Regions from separate parts of the Homo sapiens genome. Here all the other regions are linked to region 1. The links are contacts of gene promoters, found by promoter capture Hi-C in human tissues and cell types (Jung and others, 2019). All regions are on one chromosome and are shown on one strand. The core of a region is centred on a gene start or on the middle of the fragment in contact, and the rest is flanking DNA. Distances in the headings are between cores, read along the strand shown. Region 1 holds the start of ATP8B1 (ATPase phospholipid transporting 8B1). Region 2 overlaps ATP8B1 (ATPase phospholipid transporting 8B1). Region 3 has its middle 47 kb from the start of ATP8B1.

The links. Contacts are between HindIII fragments. The study calls those that stand out against the background at their distance.
Region 2: a fragment that was not itself captured here is called in contact with the fragment with the promoter of ATP8B1 in region 1 in 7 of the 25 tissues and cell types used here (IMR-90 fibroblasts, aorta, hippocampus and 4 more).
Region 3: a contact is called between a fragment that was not itself captured here and the fragment with the promoter of ATP8B1 in region 1, in 2 of the 25 tissues and cell types used here (hippocampus and pancreas).

What each region holds. Positions count from the first base shown.
Region 1 is chr18:57,801,921-57,805,857 of GRCh38, forward strand. It overlaps ATP8B1 (ATPase phospholipid transporting 8B1), which reads right to left and starts at 1,395. Exons shown (of 28, transcript NM_001374385.1): 1 at 1,078-1,395. RefSeq lists an enhancer at 1,015-1,652. The HindIII fragment of the contact is 14,543 bases long and covers 1-3,937 here.
Region 2 is chr18:57,762,407-57,766,227 of GRCh38, forward strand. All of the region lies in intron 1 of ATP8B1 (ATPase phospholipid transporting 8B1), which reads right to left. It also overlaps the pseudogene MRPS17P7. Among named protein-coding and RNA genes, the nearest start is that of ATP8B1, 39 kb to the right of the region's middle. The HindIII fragment of the contact is 4,120 bases long and covers 1-3,761 here.
Region 3 is chr18:57,847,820-57,851,996 of GRCh38, forward strand. No RefSeq gene overlaps it. Among named protein-coding and RNA genes, the nearest start is that of ATP8B1, 47 kb to the left of the region's middle. The HindIII fragment of the contact is 6,491 bases long and covers 1-4,177 here.

The sequences.
Region 1 (3,937 bases), core at 145-2,644:
CGGGTACTCACCGGGCAGAAGCGCGGCCCAAGTCCTCCTTACTTCTGCGTGTCAATCCCCCTTCCCCAATTTGCATCCTTACTGCAATCCAGTCTCCCCCGTACAACCGTCACGGATCTGCGCTCCGAGCACCGCCCCCCCCCGCAACCAGCCACCAACCCCCGGCAGGGACCACAGGCACACGCCTCCGTCGGAAAAGTTGGGCAGACACTTCAGAACTTTTCTTTCACTTTGGGGAGAAGGAGGGAGTTGGAGAAGTGGGGGCGAGGGGTGTTAAAGCACTGGGCCATTCTCTGCAACATCTCCCCGCGCCCCCCAACAAGTTGCCCCTCCTCGTGCACACAGCGAGGTGACAGCGCAGGGCACCAAACTGCTGAGGGAAGGAGATGCCTGCAGCCATCTCAGCGGGGCTGGCGGACGCGACCCGACAGTCACCGGAAAAACAGTGGTGTCGGTCTTCCCCATCACCTCCCCTCCCCATCCCACAATAAAGCGCACGGAAGATGTCTGGGAGTACCTGGCCCTGCCACAGGAGCTGGGGAGGAGAGCGATCTCACCCCCTCCATCCCTCCCGGCAGGTGGGCCGCGGTCAGATACGTTTGGCCCGCAAGTCCTTTTCGGACACGTTGGCATCTGCTCCCAAAGAGCGCCCCAGCAGGACCCGGTCACCGGGGTCTTCCAGAGGGGCGGTAGCCACCGCACAGGAGCCAGCGGCATCCCCCAAGGAGCCGCAAGCCCTACCTGGCTTAACCCCCGGACATGTGTGTCGCTACCGATCGAAGAACCCAAACACCCCGAGATTTCCCTCCTCTAGGCAGGTGAAAACCCCACGGAACTCTCCGCAGCGCTGCCTGCCCAGCCGGCCGTGTCTCGCCGTCCCCGAGGCCTCGGGGGCTCCCAGCACCTCCACCCAAATCCCACCTGTGCGGGCTCGGGAGTCCGAGGGCGCTGACAGCTGCTGCCGCCGCATCCCGGATCTCCAAAGTGCGGCGGGAGCGGCCAGGGAACCTGCAGGACACCGCCGGGCCAAGGGGCTTGGGAAGGTCTGGGGGCCCCCGGCGCCGCACCCCTGCTTACCTGGCGTTCGCTGGGCCCCGGCTGGGGCATCCGCCTGGTGCGCGCCGCTCGGAGCGCTCGCTGCGCACCTGGCCGCTGCCGCCGCCCGCCCGGCCCCAGCCCTGGCCGCCGCGCTAGCGCTGCATGGCGCACGGGGGCTGGCCGGGGGCCCGGGGAAGCGTGTCTAGTTGGCGGCGGCACCTCCGGCTCTCGCGGCTCGCTAGTGGCTCCCCCGCCTTTCCCCGCCCCGCGTCCGTGCACCCTTCCTCTGCAGCCGCCCTTTTGCCTCCGCTCCGCCGGACCGGCCAAACTGGTTTCTCCGCTCGGGGAGGTGCCTCTGGTTTCCCTCCAGCAGCCGCGGCCGCCGAGCCTCGCTGGGGCTGGGGCTGGGGCTGGAGGCGGGCTCGGCCTTCTCCCCTCCCTTTTTCCCTCCCTAGGGCGGAGAGGGGCTGGACTGCAAGCCCCGGGGCGGCCCGAGGCGGCCCAGGTCCAGCTCCTGCCCCACGCCCTCCGTGCGTCCTGGAGTCAGGTGGGCACCCCTTTCAGTCTTCCGAGCCCAGCCTACGAGCCCTTGCCTCGCCCAGCCTGAGACCCAGTTGCTGCGGCTGCTCTTAGCTCCCCGGGGGCCGCACTCGCCACCACACCTCTCCAGCCCAGCGTCACTTTCCCGCTGCCCTTGGCTGGCTTGGCCGTCACCCCGGGTCGAGGACTGAGCCAGCCTGGAAAGCTGGCGGGGCCGCGGCGCGCCCGGGACCTGAGCTCCCTCGGTAAGGGGAGCTGTGTCCTCTTGATGCCAAGTCATGTTTGGGGACCGGTCACCGAATGCGCGTCAAAGTTCGCCGCGTGGAGGGTGAAGAAAGAGGCTGCGCCTCAAGACTTCCAGAAACGTATCCTGTGATTGCAGCCAGCAGGCTTTCTGCCGAGTCCAAACGCTATCGAGTTTTTTTGGGTTTGGAGTCAAAAGGAGTTAAGGTGCGGCCCGTGAACCACGCGGTGTAGGTGGAAATTTTGGACTCAGCGCCTCGTTGCTGGCTGGTGTCTGAGCGGGTGAATCGTGCCTCCCTGGCAGTATAGACATTACCCTCCTTCTTGAGTAGACTTTTGCCGCTCCCCGACTATGGACCGAGTCGTTGGGATAAGAATGGAGGAAAATCAAAGATCAGAGTTTGCTTAAAATGCAGTAGGGGAGCCAGGACTCCCACACGATTCCCAGTCACCTAGAGGCTCACATCTATGCCCAAGAGTCCAGACTCCCAACTGGGTCATCACAGAGGCTTCCTACAGGAGGCCGTGCTTGATGGGACTCAAAGATCCACAGCTTTAAGGATCAGAGTTGTGTAGAGAGGGTATTCAACGGGTGGCCAACTGGTAGAATCTTGTCTGATACCAACCCCGAGGCTGCTCTAGGCTTCTTTTTCATGAGTCAAACTTGATCTCTGACTAGGTGCTGGTCAGTCACTCAATCTATCCAGGCCTCAGTTTCCTCATTTGTAAAATGAGATTGGACCAGATGGTCTCTTCCAGCACTTATATTCTGAAGCTAACGACAGAACAAAGGTACCGATGCAAGAGAACATAGGGCCTGTTGGTGACACTGGTTGATCTAAGACATTTAGACTTGTTTTTGGTAGCACCTGCAAACCGTTGACAATTTAGGACCGAGCATGAGCATGATCAAGGTTGTGTTTTAGGGAAAATAATAGGGAGATAGTCTAGAGAGGATAAAACTGAAGATGGGAGAATCACTTGAGAGGCTGGGACAGCGACATACGGAGGAGTTGCCAGGGGAAGTAAAAAGGAGGAAATTCAAGGGACACCACAGAAGAGAGATAGGGCACGAAGTGGCCACAACCTGCAACTGACTGGGAGAGGGGAGCAATGGAAGGTGAGCCAGGTTCTCAAGACTGGGTTATGGCATGCAAGGAGCAGCAGACTCCAAAGGAGGGAAGCCGTTTAGGAAGACTCTGCCCCTATCTGGATAAATGCCAGCAAACCTAGGAATCAAGAGGGGATTCCAGACTAAAGGGGGCACCCCCTCCTTGCAGATCCACTACCAAGTGCTCAACCTGTCCAAGAAAATGTTACATAGAAGAGACTAAACAAGGACGCATCCAATCTACACCTGTACCTAGATCTGATCAATACCATTCTGATGTCTGCATTTATTTACTTGTTTATTTATTTATAGAGACAGGGTTGGGTTTCACTATGTTGCCCAGGCTTGTCTTGAACTCCCCAGTTCAAGCGGTCCACCTGCCTCAGCCCCCCAAGGTGCTGGGATTACAGTCATGAGCCACCACCTGTACTAAAAATACAAAAATTAGCCAAGCATGGTGGCGGGCGCCTGTGGTCCCAGCTACTCAAGAGGCTGAAGCAGGAGAATCAATTGAACCTGGGAGACTGAGGTGGCAGGCAGTGAGCCGAGACTGTGCCACTGCGCTTCAGCCTGGGCAACAGAGCGAGGCTCTGTCTCAAAATAAAATAATATTCTTTCATTCAACAAAGATTTGAGTGTGAGTGCCTACTGTGTGTCAGGCAGTTTTCTAGTTGCTTGGGTACATCTATGAGCCAATCAAATATCTTTTTTTTTTTTTTTTTTTAGACAGAGGCTCGCTCTGTTGCACAGGCTGGAGTGCAGTGGTGTGATCTCGGCTCACTGCAACCTCCACCTCCTGGGTTCCAGCAATTCTCCTGCCGCAGCCTCCCGAGTAGCTGGGGTTACAGGCACAGCCACCAGGCCAGGCTAATTTTTGTATTTTTAGTAGAGACAGGTTTCACCATGTTGGTCAGGCTGGTCGTGAACTCGTGACCTCATGATCCACCCACCTCAGCCTCCCAAAGTGCTGGGATTATAGGCGTGAGCCACTGCACTCGGCAAGTA
Region 2 (3,821 bases), core at 452-2,951, 39 kb before region 1:
GAGATTACAGGTGTGAGCCAATGTGCCCGGCCCCAGTAATGACATATTGTAACTAAAGTCCCTAGTTTACATGAAGTCCACAGTTCACTAGGGTTCACTCTTTGTTGTGTGGGGTTTGGCAAATGTATAGTGACACACATGGTACCTAGTTGAAAGAATGCCCTCTTGCATTAAGTCTTACTCTCAAGAGTGGAACACACAGTAAAGGCAGAAGAGGAGAGCAATAGGCTGCTTATATCCCGTGATCCTCAAGTGATGACAAATCGAAGATATTTACAGTGAACAGTGGTGCATGTGCCCAGCACCATAAACATGAACCTACTTACTTTTTTGCTTTTTCATTGTTCCTTTTTAACACTTGGAATATCTTTCCTACAGCAATACTCTCTGTTACTTAAACTACCAAACCCATTATCTCCTGATGAAGCAATGTGCTTCCCAAACGTAGTAATTCAAGGCTGTGTCTTTACAGCCTTGAACAATCTTTTAAAAATCTGAGACATAGCAACCAGATGTTGATAGAGATTACTTCTCTTGATCCAAAGATAACTGGCACTTGGAGTTCTAAGAAAGTCAGGAGTTCAAAGAATGAGAATCTAAGTGAGGGAAAATGAACTCCTTGAACACACGTTTTTTGCACTGTTATCAAGTCATTTCTTAGGATTGATTGTCAGAATGAAATGGTTGTTAAAAAATTGTACTCTAGGCCGGGCGCGGTGGCTCATGCCTGTAATCCCAGCACTTTGGGAAGCCGAAGCGGGCAGATCACCTGAGGTCAAGGTTCGAGACCAGCCTGACCAACATGGAGAGGCCCTGTCTCTACTAAAAATACAAAATCAGCCGGGCTTGGTGGCACGTGCCTATAATCCCAGCTACTAGGGAGGCTAAGGCAGGAGATTCGCTTGAACCTGGGAGGCGGAGATTGCGGTGAGCCGAGATCGTGCCACAGCACTCCAGCCTGGGCAAGAAGAGCGAAACCCCATCTCAAAAGAAAAAAAAAAAATTGTACTCTAAAGATAGAGCTCTGTTTCCACAAATTGTATCAGAAACGAGAGGTAACATTTCAACATTTAAGCTTTCATATGCATTTATTTTTCAAATTCCAACAAACATTTTCAAGTTTGTTAGAACTAAACAGAACCTACTAGAATCAATTCTATTGATGTCATTTCTTTTAACATAGCAACTTATCACACAATAAGTACTCAATGTCTGGGTTTTAATTGACCAAGTAAGTAAATTGAAGAAAGTTTGGAAAACTTTCTCTTCCTCTGACACAATTCTTCACTGTTCTTTTTTTTGGGGGGCGGGGGGATGAAGCTTTGAAAAATTTATTTTTGCATAACATAAACATGTCAATCTTTCCCTTTAGCTCCTTCCACTCCTCCTTCAGTGTGCCGAAGAGATACTGAGTTCTTCCAGATTTTTGCTTAGCTGGGTAGTTTCTAAACTCAACAGACTCTCCAGGTAGGTAGTTCCTGCACGGGGCTTTCCTGTCACTGGATCTATGACTTTTCCAACTTTGAAAATGATCTTGGCCTGTTCATGTTTCACATGCTTCGTTCATGGGACAGGTAAAGCTCTGAGAAGCACGATATCCCCAGCTGTGCACTGCCGAAGGCCATCGTGAACAAAGGAGGTTTTCCACTTATTATAATACTTTAATAAATAGGGATCCAGAACAAGCCCGGTCACTCTCGCTTTAGCAGTCTTTTGTATTTTTGTCCCAATCACCTTCCCCACGATCCATCTGGCATGGACAGATGAACGAACGACGGACATGATGTGGCTTTGGTCACCTCCGCCATGACTGTGCAGCCACCTGCCCCAGGGAGCCTGCCTTCCTTCCTTCCTTCTTTCCTTCCTTCCTTCCTTCTTTCTTTCTTCTTTTCTTCCTTCCTTCTTTCTTTCTTTCTTTTTCTTTCTTTCTTTCTTTTTCTTTCTTTCTCTCCCTCTTTCTTTCTTTCTTTCTCTTTTTCTCTCTTTCTCTCTTTCTTTCTTTCTCTCTTTCTCTCTTTCTTTCTTTCTTTCATACCGAGTCTTGCTCTGTAGCCCAGGCTGGAGTGCAGTGGTGTGATCTCGGCTCACTGCAACCTCTGCCTCCTGGGTTCAAGTGTTTCTCCTGCCTCAGCCTCCTCAGTAGCTGTGATTACAAGCTCCTGCCACCACACCCGGCTAATTTTTGTATTTTTAGTAGAGATGGGGTTTTACCATGTTAGGCAGGCTGGTCTCAAACTCCTGGCCTCAAGTGATCCACCTGCCTCAGCCTCCCAAAATGCTAGGATTACAGGTGTGAGACACTGTGCCCAGCCTGACACTATTCTTGAATTAACTTTTCACTTTCAGTTGTCAAAAAAAAAAAAAAAAAAAAAAACAGAAAATAAGTGTTGGTGAGGCTGCAGAGGAGTTGAAACACTTTTGCACTGCCAGTGGGAATATAAAACGGTGTAGCCACTGTGGAAAACAGCATAATGGTTCCTCAAAAAATAAACATAGAATTACCATAGGATCTAGCAATCTCACTTCTGGGTATATACCCAAAAGAATTGAAGGCAGGAATCCGAGCAGATATTTATACAGTAGACCCATGTTCACAACAGTGATATTCACAAAAGCAAAGAGGTAGAAACAATCCAAATGCTATCTGATAACTGGATACACAAAATGTGGTATAGAGACAAGGAACTATCATTTGGCCTTAAAAAGGAAATCCTGGCACATGCATAAAGACATGCTAAGTAAAATAAACCAGTCACAGAAGGACACATGATGTATGATTTCACTTACATTAGGAATGCAGAGTAGGCAAATTCAGAGACAGAAAGCAGGATGATGGTTGCCAAAGGTTGGGAGGAAGGGGAGTTGTTTAATGAGTGCAGAGCTTCAGTTGGAGAAGAACTTCTGGAGGTGGATGGCGGTGATGGCTGCACAACCATGTGAATGCCCTTAAAGACACTGAAGTGTATAATTAAAAATGGTTGGGTCGGGTGCAGTGGCTCATGCCTTTAATCCCAGCACTTTGGGAGGTCAAGGCAGGCGGATCACAAGGTCAGGAGTTCGAGACCAGCCTGGTCAATATGGTGAAACCGCGTCTCTACTAAAAATACAAAAAATTAGCCAGACATAGTGGCGGGCACCTGTAGTCCCAGCTACTTAGGAGGTTAAGGCAGGAAAATTGCTTGAACCCAGGAGGTGGAGGTTGCAGTAAGCCAAGATCGCGCCACTGCACTCTAGCCTGGGTGACAGAGTGAGACTCTGTCTCAAAAGAAAAAAAAAAAAAAAGGTTAAGGTCAAGCGCATTGGCTCACACCTGTAATCCGAGCACTTTGGGAAGCTGACTGGATCATCTGAGGGCAGGAGTTAGAGACCAGTCTGGCCAACATGGTGAAACCCCGTCTTTACTAAAAATACAAAAATTAGCCGGGCATGGTGGCAGGTGCCTGTAATCTCAGCTACTCAGGAGGCTGAGGCAGGAGAATCGCTCGAACCCCGGAGGCAGAGGTTGCAGTGAGCTGAGATCATGCTATTGCACTCCAGCTGGGGCAACAAAGCAAGACTCTGTCTCAAAAAGAAAAAAAAAAATGTTAAGATGGTAGATTGTATGTTGTGTATATTTTATCACAATAATTTTTTTTTCTTTTCTTTTCTTTTTTTGAGACAGAGTTTTGCTCTTGTTGCCCAGGCTGGAGTGCAATGGTGCCATCTTGGCTCACTGCAACCTCTGCCTCCCAGATTCAAGTGATTCTCCTGCCTCAGCCTCCCAAGTAGCTGGGATTACAGGTGCCTGCCACCACGCCTGGCTGATTTTTTGTATTTTTAGT
Region 3 (4,177 bases), core at 807-3,306, 47 kb after region 1:
AAGAAAGTAAGTAGAAAGTAAGTAGTAGAAAGATAAGAATAGAAAACAATGAAATAGAAAACAAATATACTGCTGGGTGCGGTGGCTCACGCCTGTAATCCCAACACTTTGGGAGGCTGAAGGCCAGGAGTTCAAGACCAGCCTGGACAACATAGAGAGACCTCACCTCTATTTAAAAAAAAAAAAAAAAAAATTAGCCTGGTGTGGTGGCATGTGCCTGTAGTCCCAGCTATTTGGGAGGCTGAGGCGAGAGGATTGCTTGAGCCCAGGAGGTGGAGGCTGCAGTGAGCCATGATTGTGCCACTGCACTCCAGCCGAAGTGACAGAGGGAGATCCTCTCTCGAAAAGAAAAGAAAACAAGCATGCAATAGAGAGGAATGACACAATCATAAGGTGATTCCTTCATGAGAATAATAAGATGGCAAAACTCTGGAAAGAGAGTGAGAACACATATAATGTTATGAACGAAGAAAGAACATTACAAGCCAGGCACAGTGGCTCACGCCTGCAATCCCAGTACGTTGGGAAGCCAAAGTGGGCAGATTGCTTGAGGCCAGGAGTTTGAGACAAGCCTGAGCAACATAGCAAGACTCCATCTCTACAAAAAAAATACAAAAATTAGGTGGGTATTGTGGCATGCACCTGTGGTCCTAGCTACTTGGGAGGCTGAGGTGGAAGGATTGCTTAAGCCCAGGAGGTTAAGGCTGCAGTGAGCCATGATCACACCACTGCATTCCAGCCTGGGTGACTGAGCAAGATTCTATCTCAAAAAAAAAAAAAAAAAGAAAAAGGAAAAGGAACATTACTTAAGCGCCACAGACATTAAAAAGATATGAGTAAGTTGTGAACAACTTTTTGCCAGTTCATTTGAAAAATTAAGTTAAATGGACAATTTCATATAGACATATATTATATAGGAATCTCTATCATAATAAGTGAGTACAAAGTGAGTAATTGTAATGCTCAGATCTGGGGAGGATGGAATCTCAGGGAGGGGAGCTGCATTTCCACTGATATTTGGTGATCTAGGAGCGGGTGCCTGAGAGGCTGATCAATGCTTTTGGACAACCTTGCAGGGATTGCAGGGAGAGGTGCACTGGCATCCTGGAGTCCAGGGCTGCCAAGAAGGTAAGGCCCCGATGAGCAACTTTTGCTTTGTGTTAGAACCCTGAAGGGCTACACGCTATGAATAGGGGTGAACTAGAATATAACACACTATTGTTGGGACTGCAGCTCAACCTCAAATCTTCCCAGTCTCTCAAATTGGATTGCTAGTGTTCCAGGCTCCTGGCAGGGGCAAATTTCTCTAGAGAAAGATGGCATCAACCTAGGCATCAAATTATTTCTAAAAATAATTTTGCAAATATAAAGTCCAGCACAGAATAAAAAACAACAAGGCAGCCAGGCACAGTGGCTCATGCCTGTAATCCCAGCGCTTTGGGGGGCCGAGGCAGGTGATCACTTGATGTCAGGAGTTCGAGACCAGCCTGGCCAACATGGTGAAACCCTGCCTCTATTAAAAATACAAAAAATAGGCGTGCTGGCGCAGGCTTATAATCCCAGTTACTCGAGAGACTGAGGCAGGCGAATTGCTTAAACCTGGGAGGTGGAGATTGCAGTGAGCCAAGATCCCACCACTGCACTCCAGCCTGGGCTACAGAGTGAGACTCCATCTAAAAAAAGAAAATAAAAGAGAAGAAAAAAGACAGCCAGGCCACATGTGGAGACAAAATACTATATGAGCAAAAAAGAGCAGAACTAGCAAAAATTGAAACAGACCTAAAGGAACTCCAGATACTGGAGTTAGCAGACAAGACTTGCTTATGATATTCAAGATTAAAAGCAAGACATAATTTCAGCAGAGATCTGAAAACTACAAAAAAGACCCACTACAAGAAAGGATTATTTCAGGCTAATCTCACTCATGAAAATAGTTGTAAAAATCCTATGCAAAATATTTACAAATAGAATCCAACAATATGCAAATAGGCAATAAGTAATGATCAAGTTGGGTGTTTTTTTTTCCCCAGGAAAAGAAGATTTATTTAGCACTCAAAAATCAACCATTGTAATTATCTACATTACCAGAACAGAGGAGAAAAAAATGTAAAATCACGTCAAAAGATGTAGAAAAAAATTTGATTACATTCGGTATCCATTCGGTATCCATTTGTCATCAATGGAAAAAATAAAAAGAAACTTCCTTATCTGATAATGAGCATCTACAAAAAGCCTATTGTGAACACCATAATTAATAGTTAAATGTTGAAAATTTTCTTTTGATTTGGGGAATAGGGCAAGTATGTTGGCTAAGTCCTCTTGGAAGCAGACGTCAAGATGGATTTAGAAGTGCAATGGATTTATTGGAGGCAATTCCCATGAAAGCTCAAGAGGGGAGGCAGCAAGAGAGGGCAGAGAAAGCTTCAGACCTAAATGCTGATCTGACCCCTGTGCAAGGAGAAGGGAAGGAAGAGGATAAGGTAGGAAGAACAGCAAATTACACTGCAGCTCTGAGAATATCTTGACTAGCCGAATGGGGAGCTGTGGCTCAAAGATTTCCCATGGAGGAGTCCCACACCGGCCAAAAAGATGAGTCCTTGCATCACTGCCAAGCCCATTAATTGATTGAAGGCTGCTCTGGAAATCTATGGCCCAGCTCAAAAGCTGAAGAAGATGCTGAAGGTGCCTGCAGCCAGAAGCTGTGAGCCAACTGCACTCTCCAAGGCAGGTTTTTTTTTTTTTTTTTTTTTTTTGAGATGGAGTCTCACTCTCACCCAGGCTGGAGTGCAGTGGCATGATCTCGACTCACTGCAACCTGCACCTCCCAGGTTCAAGCAATTCTTCTGCCTCAGCCTCTCTAGTAGCTGGGACTACAGGCGTGTGCTACCACGCATGGCTAATTTTTGTATTTTTTGTAGAAATGGGGTTTCACCATGTTGGCCAGGCTGGTCTCAAACTCCTGAGCTCAGGTGATCCAACTGCCCCAGCTTCCCAAAATGCTGGAATTACAGGCATGAGCCACCGCACCTGGCTTCTGTTTTGAAGGAAGATATGAGAGACTCACCTCCACATCTGCCACAAGAATATTCAATATCACCACTTCTATTCAATATTGTACTAGAGGTCCCAGTCAGGGAATAAAGAATAGAAAAATACAGAGAATAAATTTAGAAATTTAGAAAGAAACACTACTGATGTTATTTGAAGATTTAGAAAGAAATGTATACATTTAGAAACTCTACTGACGTTATTTGAAAGTTATATGGCTGTGTATATACAATATTCTAAAGGAATATATAAATAAGCATTTAGAATAAGTGAGTTAAGCAATTTTGTTGCATATAATGTCTACGTAAAAAGGCAACTGTGGCCTAGTGCAGTGGCTCACGCCTGTAATCCCAGCACTTTGGGAGGCCAACGTGGGAGGATCACAAGGTCAGGAGTTCGAGACGAGCCTGACCAACATGGTGAAACCCTGTCTCTACTAAAAATAAAAAAATTAACCGGGCATGGTGCCACACACCTGTAATCCCAGCTACTCAGGAGGCTGAGGCAGGAGAATCGCTTGAACCTGGGAGGCGGAGGTTGCAGTGAGCCAAGATGGCACCACTGCACTCCAGCCTGGGCAACAGAGTGAGACTCCGTCAAAAAAAAAAGTCACTTGCATCCTTAAATAGCAGTAGCATAGAAAAATAAGGTATCAGGCCAAGTGCACTGGTTCATGCCTATAATTCCAGCACTTTGGGAGGTTGAGGCAGGAGGATGGCTTGACCCCAGGAGATCAAGACCAACCTAAGCTAGGCAACATAGGTAAGACCCTGTCTCAACAAAAAATAAAAATATCGACCAGGCATGGTGGCACATGCCTGTAGTCCCAGCTACTTAGAAGGCTGAGGTGGAAGGATTGCTTGAGCCCAGGAGGTCGAGGTTGAAATAAGCCATGCTGGTACCACTTCACTCCAGCCTTGGTGACAGAGAGAGACCCTGTCTAAAACAAACAAACAAAAATCAGGTTTCAAGAAATACAATTTAAAAATGATGCGCAAGAGCTTTACACAGAGAACTGTAATGCATTATTAAGAGAAATACACACACCCACTCCCGCAAATAAAAGAAGAAACAAACCATGTTCACAAATTGTTAGAATAAATATTGCAAAAATGTCACTTCTCTGTAT